Regions from separate parts of the Homo sapiens genome. Here regions 2, 3 and 4 are each linked to region 1. The links are contacts of gene promoters, found by promoter capture Hi-C in blood cells and fetal thymus (Javierre and others, 2016). All regions are on one chromosome and are shown on one strand. Each heading gives the region's core, a stretch centred on a gene start or on the middle of the fragment in contact. The rest is flanking DNA. Distances are from core to core; before and after follow the strand shown. Region 1 holds the start of KAT8 (lysine acetyltransferase 8). Region 2 has its middle 20 kb from the start of ITGAX. Region 3 overlaps ITGAM (integrin subunit alpha M). Region 4 overlaps FBXL19 (F-box and leucine rich repeat protein 19).

Evidence for each region. The method cuts DNA at HindIII sites, captures the fragments that hold promoters and counts their contacts. A CHiCAGO score of 5 or more calls a contact.
Region 2: a fragment that was not itself captured here is called in contact with the fragment with the promoter of KAT8 in region 1 in 2 of 17 cell types (monocytes and naive B cells); the score reaches 11.0 in monocytes.
Region 3: a contact is called between a fragment that was not itself captured here and the fragment with the promoter of KAT8 in region 1, in 1 of 17 cell types (monocytes). The highest score is 5.8, in monocytes.
Region 4: a fragment that was not itself captured here is called in contact with the fragment with the promoter of KAT8 in region 1 in 1 of 17 cell types (naive B cells); the score reaches 5.2 in naive B cells.

The regions. Positions count from the first base shown.
Region 1 is chr16:31,115,637-31,119,252 of GRCh38, reverse strand. KAT8 (lysine acetyltransferase 8) reads right to left here and starts at 1,589. Exons shown (of 11, transcript NM_032188.3): 1 at 1,361-1,589. The coding sequence starts at 1,571. It also overlaps a transcript of BCKDK not described here. RefSeq lists an enhancer at 1,006-1,125 and silencers at 1,296-1,645, 1,545-1,771. The HindIII fragment of the contact is 10,033 bases long and covers 1-3,616 here.
Region 2 is chr16:31,333,189-31,336,804 of GRCh38, reverse strand. No RefSeq gene overlaps it. Among named protein-coding and RNA genes, the nearest start is that of ITGAX, 20 kb to the left of the region's middle. The HindIII fragment of the contact is 1,483 bases long and covers 1,062-2,544 here.
Region 3 is chr16:31,293,975-31,297,590 of GRCh38, reverse strand. It overlaps ITGAM (integrin subunit alpha M), which reads right to left. Exons shown (of 30, transcript NM_000632.4): 13 at 1-77. Among named protein-coding and RNA genes, the nearest start is that of ITGAM, 36 kb to the right of the region's middle. The HindIII fragment of the contact is 384 bases long and covers 1,780-2,163 here.
Region 4 is chr16:30,938,988-30,942,603 of GRCh38, reverse strand. It overlaps FBXL19 (F-box and leucine rich repeat protein 19), which reads right to left. Exons shown (of 11, transcript NM_001382779.1): 8 at 325-488; 9 at 68-229. Among named protein-coding and RNA genes, the nearest start is that of ORAI3, 8.3 kb to the left of the region's middle. RefSeq lists an enhancer at 1-40 and a silencer at 465-594. The HindIII fragment of the contact is 714 bases long and covers 1,455-2,168 here.

The DNA.
Region 1 (3,616 bases), core at 340-2,839:
GCTTGAATCCGGGAGGCAGAGATCGCAGTGAGCCAAGATGGCGCCACTGCACTCCAGCCTGGCAACAGAGAGCGATTCCATCTCAAACAAACAAACAAAAAAAAATACACAAAATTCCAGCTCCCTACTTCCTAGCTATGTGTAACTGAGCAAGTTATTCCATCTTTCTGAGCCTCAGTCTCTTCATCTGTGAAAAGGGATAACAGCTGGGCACAGTGGCTCATGCCAGTAATCCCAACACTCTGAGAGGGTGAGGTGGGAGGATCACTTGAGCCTAGAAGGTCTAGGCTTCAGTGAGCTGTCATCGTGCCACGGCAATCCCACCTGGGTGACAGAGCGAGATCCTGTCTCAAAAAAAAAAAAAAAAAAAAAGACAAAAGGGATAATAGTACCAACCTTAGAAGGTGAATTAATGCCTCCAAAATTTTTAGCAGCGCACCTGACAATTAGCAGAGCATTCAATAAATGAGTAAGGCAACCACTACGTGTCTGGCCCTATGCTGTGTTGTTGCCGGGTACAGAGGACACAGTGATGAATCACAAGAAGTGCTGCCCTCCAGAAGTTCCCAGTATGATGGAGGAAGACAGAGAGAGAAAATTACAACATAATGTTACAAAAACTATGACTGAGGTAGGAAAAAAATGTTGCAGGAACATAGAGAAGGGAACCACTCACTTTGCCTGAAGGGGAATCAAGGATGACATCACAAAGGATATGAAGCTAAGAGGATGAGTAGGAGCTAGGCAGGCAAACAAGGAGAAAGGGAAGAAAAAGCATTCCAAGCAAAGGGCACAGGTGGTAAAGGGCGTGTGGTCTTCAGAGGGCACAGTGTGTTCTGGCCTGGCAATGCCCTTTCCTAGTGTTGGCTAGAAACTGGAGAGGTCACAAAAATGAATGCCACCCTAAGGAGTTTGGGGTTAATTTTGAAAATGAGAGAAGGCAGCAGAACTTTAGGAAAGGGAAGCCTGTTGTTTCTGGAAGGTCTTCTCTCTGCGGATGGCTGCCAGGGACAAATGGAAAAAGAAGACGCAGAGACAAGAGAGGGTGAGGAAGCAGCGTTAGCAAGAAAAAGGAATGAAGCCTAAGACTGGGCAAGGAAGTGGAATGGGAACAATCCTGGTGAAGGCCTGAGCGGTGGGTTTGTAGGCGTCGCTCGGCATAATTCAAGGTCAACAGCCTCCCACAACCCGGCTGGTTTCTCAGCGCCCGGAACGCGGCGTTCTTTCCTCAAGCCCCGCCCCTCCTCCTCTCCACTCCCAGCCCCCGGATCTTGGCCTCACTGACAGCCTGTCCTCAGGCCCCGCCCCACCCCCTGGCCCTGAGCTCCGCCCCGCCCCCAGCCCTGGGCCCCGCCCTCACGCCAGGTGCTATCCGGTCGCCGGCACAGGTACGTTTCTCCGATCTCCACCGTGACTTCCGGCTCGCCGCGCGCCGGGGTCGGCGGAGAGACGCGGCCCGGGGATGGGGCGGTCCCCTCAGCGGCCGCATTCTCCCCGGGCCCGGGCTCGCCCTCCCCCGCGACCCCTGAAGTCCCCGCCGCAACCGCCGCAGCAGCTCCCTGTGCCGCCATCGCGGGAAGGGAAGTGACGCCAGAATCGGACGCCACGCAGTTCTTTTGGCTCCGGGTCAGCAGTGCGTGGGGCGGGCTCCTCAAGGTTTGAGGGCGGGGTCTGTGATGTAGCAGGAGCCGATTGGCTTCTGTGGCCGTCCCCGCGGCCCCGCGAGTTGGATGTTGAGTGTGCGGCAGTCTTGGAGCTCCTGGTTTTCCGTGCGGACCTGTGGCTGCAGCCTATGGGTGAGGAGAGGAGACAGACTTACCTCATGCGATGACTCAACTCAACCTTTTTTTAATTTATTTATTTATTTATTTATTTATTTATTTTGAGACGGAATCATGCTCTGTCGCCCAGGCTGGAGTGCAGAGGCGCGATCTCGGCTCACTGCAACCTCCGCCTCCGGGTTCAAGCGATTCCTCTGCCTCAGCCTCCCGGGTAGCTGGGACTGCAGGCGCGCGCCACCACGCCCATCTAATTTTTGTATTTTTAGTAGAGACGGGGTTTCACCATGTTGTCCAGGATAGTCTTGATCTCTTGACCTCGTGATCTGCCAGCCTCAACCTCCCAAAGTGCTGGGATTATAGGCGTGAGCCACCGTGCCCGGCCAGCTGAACCTTTTTAAAGGCCCTGGTACCTGCGGAAGCCAAGATGTGCCAATTTTCAGCGGGCGCTGCCCCCACTTTAACAGGGCAGAGCCAGAGCGGCCGCCCTGGTGGCCTGGAGCCGCACACTCGCGCTGGCCTAATGTCGCTCCCCGCCCCCCCCCCTTTTTTTTTTTTGAGATGGAGTCTCGCTCTGTCGCCCAGGCTGGAGTGCAGTGACGCGATCTCGGCTCACTGCAGCCTCCGCCTCCCGGGTTCAAGCGATTCTCCTGCCTCAGCCTCCTGAATAGCTGGGATTACAATCGCGCGCCACCACGCCCGGCTATTTTTTGTATTTTTAGTAGAGAGAGGGCTTCACCCTGTTGGCCAGGCTGGTCTCGAACTCCTGACCTCAGGTGATCCGCCCGCCTCGGCCTCCCAAAGTGCTAGGGTTACAGGCGTGAGCCACCGTGCCCAGCCAGTGCCCCATTTTTGAAGGTTGAAGAGACTACTTCCCCTATTTGGGATACAGTTGGTGCGGGGAAAGCAGAACGGGTGTGTCCAGGGACAGGCCATAATTCACCCTCACAGGATAAAGTCTAAAGAAAGGACGAGTTGGGCGGGGCGTGGTGGCTCACGCCTGTAATCTCAGCACTTTGAGAGGCCGAGGCGGGCGGAGATCGAGACCATCCTGGCTAACACCGTGAAACTCCGTCTCTACTAAAAATACAAAATTTAGCCGGGCGTGGTGGCACGCACCTGTAGTCCCAGCTACTCGGGAGGCTGAGGCAGGAGAATCGCTTGAACCCGGGAGGCGGAGGTTGCAGTGAGCCGAGATCCCGCCATTGCACTCCAGCCTGGGGACCAAGAGCCAGACTCCATCTCAAAAAAAATAAAAAGGCCGGGTGCGGTGGTTCACGCCTGTAATCCCAGCACTTTGGGAGGCCTAGGCGGGTGGATCACGAGGTCAGAAGATCGAGACTATTCTGGCTAACACGATGAAACTCCGTCTCTACTAAAAAAAAATACAAAACAATTAGCCGGGCGTGGTGGCGGGCCCCTGTAGTCCCAGCTACTCGGGAGGCTGAGGCAGGAGAATGGTGTGAACCCGGGAGGTGGAGCTTGCAGTGAGCTGAGATCACGCCACTGCACTGAGGGTTCTGTGAGAGTCAGTAAAGGTTAAAGCCATTTATATGTGTATGGTCCAACCATACACAATCGGCCCTCCATATCCGCATGTCCCACCTTTGGAGATTGAACGAAGAGCGGGTTGAAAATACAGTGTTGAGGTATGGTGGCTCACACCTGTAATCTCGCACTTCAGGAATCCAAGCAGGAGGATCGCTTCAGGCCAGGAGTTCAAGACCAGCCTGGGCAGCATAGAGACCTCCTTTCTACTAAAAATTTGGGGGAAAAAAAAAATTAGCTGGGCCTCGGGGCCCGCACCTGTAGTCCCACCTACTCAGGAGGCTGAGGCA
Region 2 (3,616 bases), core at 554-3,053, 220 kb before region 1:
ATCTCTCTCCTGTAATGGCATGAGAATATGGAGTCCAGGGCTGACATGGTGCCTCCGCAGAGGCGGGACCCAGCCTCCTCTGTTCCACTCTTGCATTCTTCGATGTCAAACTCATCTTCAGGGTCCAAAATTGTGCACCGTGATGCTGACACTCCAGCCAGCGGGAAGGTGGTGAAAAGAAACGACACTTCTTCCCTCAAAGGACCTGGCTCCGAAGTTGCTCGCTTCACTGCTGCTCACATCCCATCAGCCAGAACCTCGCCAGGCAGCCACACCAGCTGCACAGGAGGTGGGGAGACGAACCCTATAACTAAGGGGCTATACGCAATATCCATTGCAGCGTAACAAACCACCACGCAGGACTGAGACATCAGTAATTGATTATTTCTCACAGTTGCATGAGGTGACAATCCAGGCAGTTCTGTGGGACTCTCCAGTGGCTGCAGGTGTTGGACAGCTGGATGGAAGGATCACAGCAGCCTCATGCATGCACAGTGGCAGTGGCCTCCGCTGTCTCCTCCATGAGTCCACTCTTTCTCCAGTGGGCCATATGGATCACGGCGTGGTGACCTCAGTGTTCCGAGGGGTGCAGGGCAGGATCTGCTGTGCTCCTAAAGGTCTAGGCTCCAGAACTCACACGACCACACTCCTACTGTATTCTATTAATCAAAGCAAACCACGGGACCAGCCCAGATTCAAAGAGGTAGACAGGCCGCACCATGTGATGTCAGGGACAGCAATGTCACACTGCAAGGGTGTAGGGCCGGGAAGCACCATTCACTGGGAGTCAGAATTGTAACCATCTCCCATGGTGGCCCAAATTAAGATTCTACTCTAAGTAGGAAAAGGAGAGTGGATACTGAAGGGATTCATTTATTCTGAAGTGAGAAATCCCCAAAAATAAAAGCAAGCAGACGTTCCTGGACTTGGCCACTTATCACCAGATTTATGGTCCTGTTTATTAGTCACTTTGTGGTCATGCTAGGGAAATCTGTCGCTTGAAATGATTGACTTTTCTAACCCATCATAAAGCTCCTATCTGGCTGAATTCAACACAAGCTTCTCATTTGAAGACGCGGAGGTGAACTCTGAGTTCACAGGACTTTAACTGCCCTGCAAAGACTGGCGGCTACAGGCACGGAGGCTGCAAGGACAGGCAACTACAGGTATGGAGGCTGCCAGGACAAGCAACTAGGTACGAAGGCTACAAGGACCAGCATGGAGGCTGCAAGGACAGGCGACTACAGACATGGAGGGTGAAAGGACAGGCGACTAAAGGTACAGAACTCTCTCTGTTCCCGGAGCAATTCAGGACTTCTGCAGATATTGAGGACTTTTATCTTTCAACATAAGGAAACACAGAAATTCTTAACAGACTTTATTTAAGTCAGGAGAGGAAATAGCAAAGAACCGTCTAAAGGTGACCGTGTTTTGTGTCACCCCCACAGATACAAAGGGCCATTGTCTCATTAGCCACCTTTTGAGGGCATCTCACTTCACTTTGAGTGAAATTGGAACTACTCACTCTGGCTTACAAAGCACTCATGCCCAAGCCCTGCCCACTCTCCCAGCCTCCCCTGCCCTCCCTTCTGCCTGGAGATCTTCTGGCCCTGCTTCAGTCAGGTGTCACCTCCCTTGGGGACCCTTCCTTCACCTCCCTAAGGAGTAAGCCCTCTCTCCTCCTGCCACATGTGAAACAAGTGTCCCTCTAAGCCATGATTTTCTTGTATTTCAATGAAGATCATGAAATTACCATTTTTTGGCTGGGCACAGTGACTCACACCTGTAATCCCAGCATTTCGGGAGGCCAAGGCAGATGGATCACCTGAGGTCAGGAGTTCAAGACCAGCCTGGCCAACATGGTGGAACCCCATCTCTACCAAAAATACAAAAAAAAAAAATTAGCCAGACATTGTGGTGCACGCCTGTAATCCCAGCTACTCAGGAGGCTGAGGCAAGATAATCACTTGAACCCGGGAGGGAGAGGTTGTAGTGAGCTGAGATCACACTACTGTACTCCAGTCTGGGCGACAGAACAAGACTCCATGAAAAAAAAGAAAGAAAGAAAGAAAGAAAGAAAGAAAGAAAGAAAGAAAGAAAGAAAGAAAGAAAGAAAGAAAGAAAGAAAGAAAGAAGGAAGGAAGGAAGGAAGGAAGGAAGGAAGGAAGGAAGGAAGGAAGGAAAGAAAGAAAGAAAAAAGAAAGGAAGGAAGGAAGGAAGGAAGGAGGAAGGAAGGAAGGAAGGAAGGAGGAAGGAAGGAAGGAAGGAAGGAAGGAAGGAAAGGAAGGAAGGAAGGAAGGGAAAGAAAGAAAGAAGGAGAAAGAAAGAAAGAAGGAGAAAGAAAGAGAGAGAGAAAGAAAAGAGAGAAAGAGAAAGAAAGAAAGAAAAGAAAGAAACATTTTTGTCCAAAAACATGTCATCAATTTCATATGCTTTAACCCAATATCATAACAGTTAAATAACAGCCACCCTCTCCCCACACTCCCTCATGCCTGTTCTGGGGCCATTCCTCTGAGGCTGTCAGGACAGTAAAAGAGAAAAGCTTTAGACCTAGGCAGAGCTGGGATTAACTCCTAGCTCCATTCCTTCCCAGCTGTATGACCTCAGGCAACTGGTATGATCTATCTAAGCCTAGGTTTCCTCATAAGTGAAATTCATGTAAATACCAAGGACTGGTGTGAGGATTAGAGAGGATGTATGTTCAGGCCAGGCTAGTGTTTACTGTGTTTGCAAAGTATGAGGGACAGGCACTGGGCATCCTCCCTCTGAGGAAGCAGCCACCAAAATGTCACCTGCACACACCTTGGCAGCAAGTGCTCCTGGTGCCCTGACCTGAACCAAAGGCACCGTGTCAGGGGCTGTGTTCACCTGTCAAACATCCAGCCAGCAGCACTGGTATCACTTTCTCTGGCCACTAGAGCCCACTCTCCTCACACTCAGGGCAGGCCAGAAGTGGTAGGAAATTAACACACTCTCCCCACCAAGAGCAGCCCTCATCCAATAGCTAAGTGGAATCGGTGTCTATGCGCTCCAGCCTTCTCCCCTGGGTGGGGTGATACTGAGGTGCGTGTTCTGCACTGCCTCCGAGAACTGCCCAGTGGGGTGAAGCTCCAGGAACTCACAGCAGCTTCTCTGTGGGTGATACACCTGTTATTGGCAGCCTTCCCTTCCTCGGTATTTCCTGGAGCCATCTCTTTATTTTATTTTATTTTATTTATTTTTTTTTTTTTAAGATGGAGTCCTGCTCTGTCGCCCAGGCTGGAGTGCAGTGATGCAATCATATCTCACTGCAACCTCTACCTCCCAGGTTAAAGCAATTCTCCTTCCTCAGCCTCCCAAGTAGCTGAGATTACAGTTGCCTGCCACCATGCATGGCTAATTTTTTTGTATTTTTAGTAGAGACGGGGTTTCACCAAGTTCGACAGGCTGGTCTCAAACTCCTGAGATCAGGTGATCCACCAGCCTCGGCCTCCCAAAGTTCTGGGATTACAGAGGCGTGAGCCACTGTGCCCGACCTTTATTTTATTATTTTGTTTATTTTTGAGACAGGATCTCACTCTGTCACCCAGGCTGGAGTGCAGTGGTGCGATCATGGCTCACTGCAGTCTAGACCTTC
Region 3 (3,616 bases), core at 722-3,221, 180 kb before region 1:
CCGATGAGGACCAGGTCGGTGCTGCCGTTGCTGTCCACGTCCACGGAGCAGAGGGAGGCCCCGAAGTAGGCGCCGATCTGAAAGAGACAGGACCGTAATCACACACCTCTTCCCACCTAAAGCAGATGTGGAGGTTTTCTCTCTCTGAAGAAAAGTTATGCCTGCTGGGGGAATCCCTCTGGAGCAGATGTGATCTTCTATATGGTTCATGATAAATTATCACTTGAATGTGCTGCCAGCTAAAGGAACCTATATAATAAGCCTGGCAGAATGGTTTCTGCCTGTAATCCCAGCTCCTCGGGGGGCTGAAGTGGGAGGATCCCTTGAGCCAAGGAGTTTAAGGCTGCAGTGAGCTTTGTCACCACTGCACTCCAGCTTGGGCAACAGAGCAAGATCCCAATCTCTAAGTGTATATATATATTTTTTAATAATTTAAAAGATAAAAAATAAGCCTATAGTAGAGTCAATGGGCAGTGAGTGAGGATTTACTCCAGGTGGTATTCCTGGGAGATTATTAAGGCAGCAAAGAAGAATTTGGGTTGGAAAATACATAGAAAATTCTAGAAGAGAAGACAGAATACCACCCTTTCAATATATTGGGAATCTTTAGGGAGGTAAAAAGTCAAAGTTGGCACTCTGACTAATAAGGCTAATAACTGGCTTAGATTAAAAATAACTATTTGTTATTTGAATATTTGTTGTGATATTAAGAAATATCTTCAAGGTCAATATGTAGAATTCATCCATAAAATTCACCTATTTAATCATACATTCATTCATTCATTTATTCATTCATTCAACAAACAAGTGTTTCTTATTGCTAAGCACACAGCTGGGTAATAGAGATACAGTGCCTTCCAGGGCCCTCAGTGCAGCCAGGTGGAGGAGAGGAGAGTAATCAATGGATTAACAGGGAGATGTGTATAGCAATTTCAAACTGGGACAAGTTCTAGAAAGGGAATGTGCAGGGGACATCATGCCACGGCTCTGCAACGTGATTTCTGCCTCATACACCATTGAGGGAAGACTCATTGATAACTGAATACTTTATCCTAAAGTCAACAGAATTTGATTGTTTTTTAGGTCAGATTTATTGGGGAAGAGTTTACATACAATAAAATTCAGCCTTTTAGTACATAGTTTTATGAGTTTTGACAAACATATAAAGTCATATAACCGGCCAGATGCAGTGGCTCATGCCTGTAATCCCAGCATTTTGGGAGGCCAGGGCGTGTGGATCACCTGAGGTCAGGAGTTCGAGACCAACCTGGAAATCATGGTGAAACCCCATCTCTACTAAAAATACAAAAAAAAAAAAATTAGCAGGGCATGGTGGCGGGCGCCTATAGTCCCAGCTACTCAAGAGGCTGAGGCAGGAGAATGGCGTGAACCTGGGAGGTGGAGCTTGCAGTGAGCCGAGATAACGCCACTGCACTCCAGCCTGGGCAACACAGAGAGACTCTGTTAAAAAAAAAAAAAAAAAAGATAAAAAGATAATAACCATGATCAAGTGTGATTTATCCCTGGGATGCGAGATGCAAGGATGATTCCACATATGCAAATCAATTAATGTGGCATATCACATTAACAGAATGAAGGACTAAAACCACATGATCATCTCAATATACGCAAAAAAAAGCATTTGACAAAATTCAACATTCTTTTATAATAAAAACTCTCAATAAATTCGCTACAGAAGGAATGTACCTCAATATGATAAAGGCCATATACGACAAGCCCACAACAAACATCATACTCAATGGTGAAAAATTGAAAGCTTTACCACTAAAATGAGGAAAAAGGCAAGAATGCTCACTCTCACTACTTCTATGTAACATAGTACTGGAAGTCCTGGTCACAGCAATTAGGCAAGAAAAATAAATGAAAGAGACCCAAATCAGATATAAAAAAGGAAATTTGTCTCTGTTTACACTTAAAATGATATATATATAAAAACATATATATATAAATATATTTTTAAAAAACCCTAAAAACTCCACCAAAAAAGAACTACTAGAACTAATGAATAAATTCAGTAAAGTTACAGGTTACAAAATCAATGTGAAAAATCAATAGTGCTTCTATACACTAACAATGAACTATCTGAAAAAGAAATCAAGAAACAATCTCATTTACAATAGCATCAAAAAAAATACCTAAGCTTAAATTTAACCAGAGAGGTGAAAAACATGTACACTAAAACTATAAAACATTGATTAAGGAAGTTAAACAAGACAAAAATAAATGGAAAGATATCCTATGTTCATGGACTGGAGTATTAATGCAATCTTCTGATTCAGTACAATCCTTATCAAAATCCCAATGGCATTTTTTTACAAAAATAGAAAAAAAACTAAAATTTATGTAGAACCACAGAAGACCCTAAATAGCCAAAGCAATCCTCAAGAAAAAAAATACTGGAGGCATCATAATTCCTGATCTCAAAACATACTGTGTCAAGAAAGCTCTAGTAAGCATAACAGCAAGGTGGTGGCATAAAAACAGACACATCAACCAATGGAACAGAACAGGGAGGCTAGAAATAAAACTATGCATTTATGGTCAATTGATCTTCAATAAAGGTGCCAAGAATATGCAAAGGAGAAAGGACATTCTCTTCAACAAATGGTGTGGGGAGAACTGGATATTCATATTCAAAAGGATTAAATTAGACCTTTATCCCAAACCATATACAAAATCAACTCAAAATGGATTAAAGACTTAAACACAAGACCTGAAACTGTAAAACTACTAGAAGAAAACAAAGGGAAAAGCTTCTTGACAATCAAGCTTCTGAGAAATGATTTTTTGGATATGACCCCAAAAGCACAGGCAACAAAAGCAAACCAGACAAATGGGGTGGCATCAAACTAAAAAGTGTCAGCTTAACAAAAAAAGAAAATTTCAGGCCAATATTCTTGATGAACACTAATGCAAAAATCCTCAACACACTACCTGCAAACCAAATCCAGCAGCACATCAAAAATCTAATCCACCATGATCAGGTAGGCTTCATTCCCGGGGTGCAAAGTTGGTTCAACATATGCAAATCAATAAATATGATTCATCACATAAACAGAACTAAAGACAAAAACCACATGATTATCTCAATAGATGAAGAGAAGGCTTTAATAAAAGTCAACACCCCTTTATGTTAAAAATTCTCAATAAACTAGGTATTGAAGGAACATACCTCAAAATAATAAGAGCCATCTACAACAAACCCACAGCCAACATCATACTTGATGGGCAAAAGCATTCCCCTTGAAAGCCAGCACAAAACAAGGATGCCTTTGCTCACTAGTCCTATTCAACATATTATTGGAAGTTCTAGCCAGAGCAATCAGGCAAAAGAAAGAAAAAAGGGCATACAAATAGGAAGAAAGGAAGTAAAAAAGTCAAACTATCCCTGTTTGCAGACAACATGATTCTATATTTAGAAAACCCCATAGTCTTGGCCTAGGAGCTCCTTCAGCTGATAAATAACTTCAACAAAGTTTCAGGATACGAAATCAATGTACAAAAATCACTAGCACTCCTATACACCAACAAGAGCTGGGAGCCAAATCAGGAAGGCAATCCTATTCACGATTGCCACAAAAAGAATAAAATAACT
Region 4 (3,616 bases), core at 562-3,061, 180 kb after region 1:
GACCTGAGAGGCCTCCTACCCTACCCTTGCCCAGCCCATTCTCCAGAAAAGCAAACAGAGGTTGCACCTGGTTTGGTGTCTGGTGGAGGCAGCAGCAACTCCCGGAGCTGGGAGTCTTTAACATCCTCGATCCAGCGGAGGTCCAGGAGCCGCAGGGCTGGCAGTGGGGCTGAGCCCAGGGCAGAGACAGAGAGCCAGGAGCAGCCAGAGAGCACCAGCTCCTGCAGGCCTGCGGAGAGGGGGCAGTCAGGAAGCAGGTGCTGTGAGGACTCCATCCCAGGCCTGTCCCTGTCCCCACCCTGTCCTCCGTACCACACACCCTACCTTGTAGTCGGTTCAGAAGCCACATGAGCTGCTTCTTGGAGACACCTGTCCAGCTGAGGTCCAGGGCACGGGGCTGGCGGCGAACCACACCACTGAGCATGGGCGGGGTCAGTGACTTCCGCCGGCTCAGGTCCATTCGAGGCCACAGACGCTTGTCATAGCACCTGGCGGCCATAGGGGGGAGACAGAGACCTCAGCCCTCAGCTCTCAGCAGCCCACAGTTCCCAGGCTCCCCAGCTCCAAGGGTGCACCCCAGCTCTCTTCTGGCCACACAGACAACAGGGTAGCAAGAAGCACCTGACCTCAGCCAAGAGCACTGGGATTGGAACCCAACTCCATCACTAACTGGAAATGAGACCCTGGGCAAGTCTGTTCCTCTCCCTGAGCCTCAGAAGCCTCGTTTATGATTGAAGGCAATAGCCCCCCCACTCTGCCTGCCCACAGGGCAGCTGTCAGGTCACATGGGCTCATCCCAGCTGTGGGCCTCCCAGCATAGAAAGTGTGCTGCCCAACACATACACAAATGCCACGCATGCTGCCTGATGTCATGCCAAGGGGACTGGTGTTATCCAGTCGTCTCCAGCCACCCTTGGGCTTCTTGATTCCTGACTGAGTTCTGGTGCTCATGGGTCCTTGCCTCCTTTACTCATCTCTGCTTCTGATCCACACCTGTCCCATCTTGACAGCCAGCTGCCCGCAGCTGGACTTACAGCCCTAATATCTTCCCTATTACATTACTGTGTTCCTCCAACTACAATGTAAATTCCACAAGGGCAGATTTGCGTTTTCCACTTTTTGAAAAAAAATTTTTTTTGAGACAGGGTCTCACTCTGTAACCCAGGCTGGACTCAGGCTCACCGCAGCCTCAACCTACTGGGCTCAAGCAATCCTCCCACCTCAGCCTCCTGAGTAGCTGGGACCACAGGCACATGTCACCACGCCTGGCTAATTTTTAAACAATTTTTTTGTAGAGACAGGGTCTCACTATGTTGCCTAGGCTGGTCTTGATCTCCTGGCCTCAAGCGATCCTCCTGCCTTGGCCTCCCAAAACACTGGGATTACAGGCATGAGCTACTGCACCCAGCTGCCCATTTGTAATGAATGAATCAAGCTAGTAACTACTTAAAGCTTCCACTGACCACTCTCCCCCACCTCCTCATCTACAGCATTTCATTTATTCACTCTGATTATAGAAAGCGTTATAGGTCCCAAGTATTGAAGCTACAAAGATGAACGAGTCCTAAGCAACATTAAACAGGTTTCCTAACCCGAGCACTCCACAGGCCTCAACAGACTATCTAACATGCAGTGGGCTGGGTGCAGTGGCTCACACCTGTAATCCCAGCACTTTGGGAGGCCGAGGTGGGTGGATCATGAGGTCAGGAATTCGAGAACAGCCTGGCTGTTCTACTAGTGAAACCCTGTCTCTACTAAAAGTACAAAAAATTAGCTGGGCATGGTGGCGGGCGCCTGTAATCCTAGCTACTCGGGAGGCTGAGGCAGGAGAATTACTTGAACCCGGGAGGCGGAGATTGCAGCGAGCCGAGATCGCACCACTGCACACCAGCTGGGGCAACAGTGAGAGACTCCATCTCAAAAACAAACAAACAAACAAACAAACAAAAAACATGCAGTGAACTGGAGAAGGGCCTCTCAAACGTACTTCCCCAGGAATCCTTCCCCACCTCTCCCAAGGTAATCTAGTAACATTTTGTAGTACACTGAAGTTCCTTTGGACTCAGTTTGAGAACTCTCTTCTCTGAGTTCAGTAGTTCTCAAAGGCATGTCCAGAAATGCCTCTGAGACTCAATAGACTGTGTCAGAAGCAGCAGGCCCAGGAAGCTTTTTTTTTTTTTTCTTGAGACAGTGTCTTGCTTAGTCACCCAGGCTGGGGTGCAGTACTGCGATCACAGCTCACTGCAACCTTAAACTCCTGGGCTCAAGCCATCCTCCTACCTCAGCCTCCTGAGTAGCTGGGACTACAGGCACATGCCACCACACCTGACTTTTTTTTTTTTTTTGAGACAGAGTTTCGCTCTTGTTGCCCAGGCTGGAGTGCAATGGTGTGATCTTGGCTCACTGAAACCACCATCTCCCAAGTTCAAGCGATTCTCCCGCCTCAGCCTCCAGAGTAGCTGGGATTACAGGCATGCGCCACCACGCCCGGCTAATTTTTTGTATTTTTAGTAGAGATAGGGTTTCTCCATGTTGGCCAGGCTGGTCTCGAAATCCTGACCTCAGGTGATCTGCCCACTTTGGCCTCCCATAGTGCTGGGATTACAGGCGTGAGCCACTGTGCCTGGCCTATTTTTTTATTTTTAGTAGAGACAAGGTTGTCCAGGCTGGTTTTGAACTCCTGAGCTCAAGCGATCCTTCCCTTGGCCTCCCAAGGGAAGCTTTCTCTTGCCTCCCTCCCTGCCCTCATGACTCTGAAAGGCTTTTCCTTGTAGAAGCCCTGGGCTGGGGCAGTGATTCCCAAGCTCCAGTATTTGCTGTTCACTTATCTGCGTAACATGATTTATCTTTGAATCATCTCCTCTTTGCACTTAAAACCAGTATTGTTGCCGGGCGCGGTGGCTCATGCGTGTAATCCCAGCACTTTGGGAGGCCGAGGTGGGTGGATCACTAGGTCAGGAGATCAAGACCATCCAGGCTAACACAGTGAAACCCCGTCTCTACTAAAAAAAAAATACAAAAAATTAGCTGGGCGTGGTGGAGGGCGCCTGTAGTCCCAGATACTCGGGAGGCTGAGGCAGGAGAATGGCGTGAATCTGGGAGGTGGAGCTTGCAGTGAGCCGAGATCGTGCCACTGCACTCCAGCCTGGGCGACAGAGCGAGACTCCGTCTCAAAAAAAAAACAAAAAAAAAAACCCCAGTATTGTTTCACATAAATATGTTAATCTTAAAAATAAACACAAAAGTCCAAGTGTGGTGTAATCCCAGCACTTTGGGAGGCCAAGGTGGACAGATCACGAGGTCAGGAGATTGAGACCATCCTGGCTAACACGGTGAAACCCCATCTCTACTAAAAATACAAAAAATTAGCCGGGCGTGGTGGCGGGCACCTGTAGTCCCAGCTACTTGGGAGGCTAAGGCAGGAGAATGGCATGAACCTGGGAGGCGGAGCTTGCAGTAAGCCGAGATTGCGCCACTGCACTCCAGCCTGGGTGACAGAGCGAGACTCTGTCTCAAAAATAAATAAATAAATAAATAAAACACAAAAAAGACCAGAGTTATTAAATCCTAGCCAGGTGTTGCTGTGGCTTTAGGCTACTACCTGAAGACTACTTTT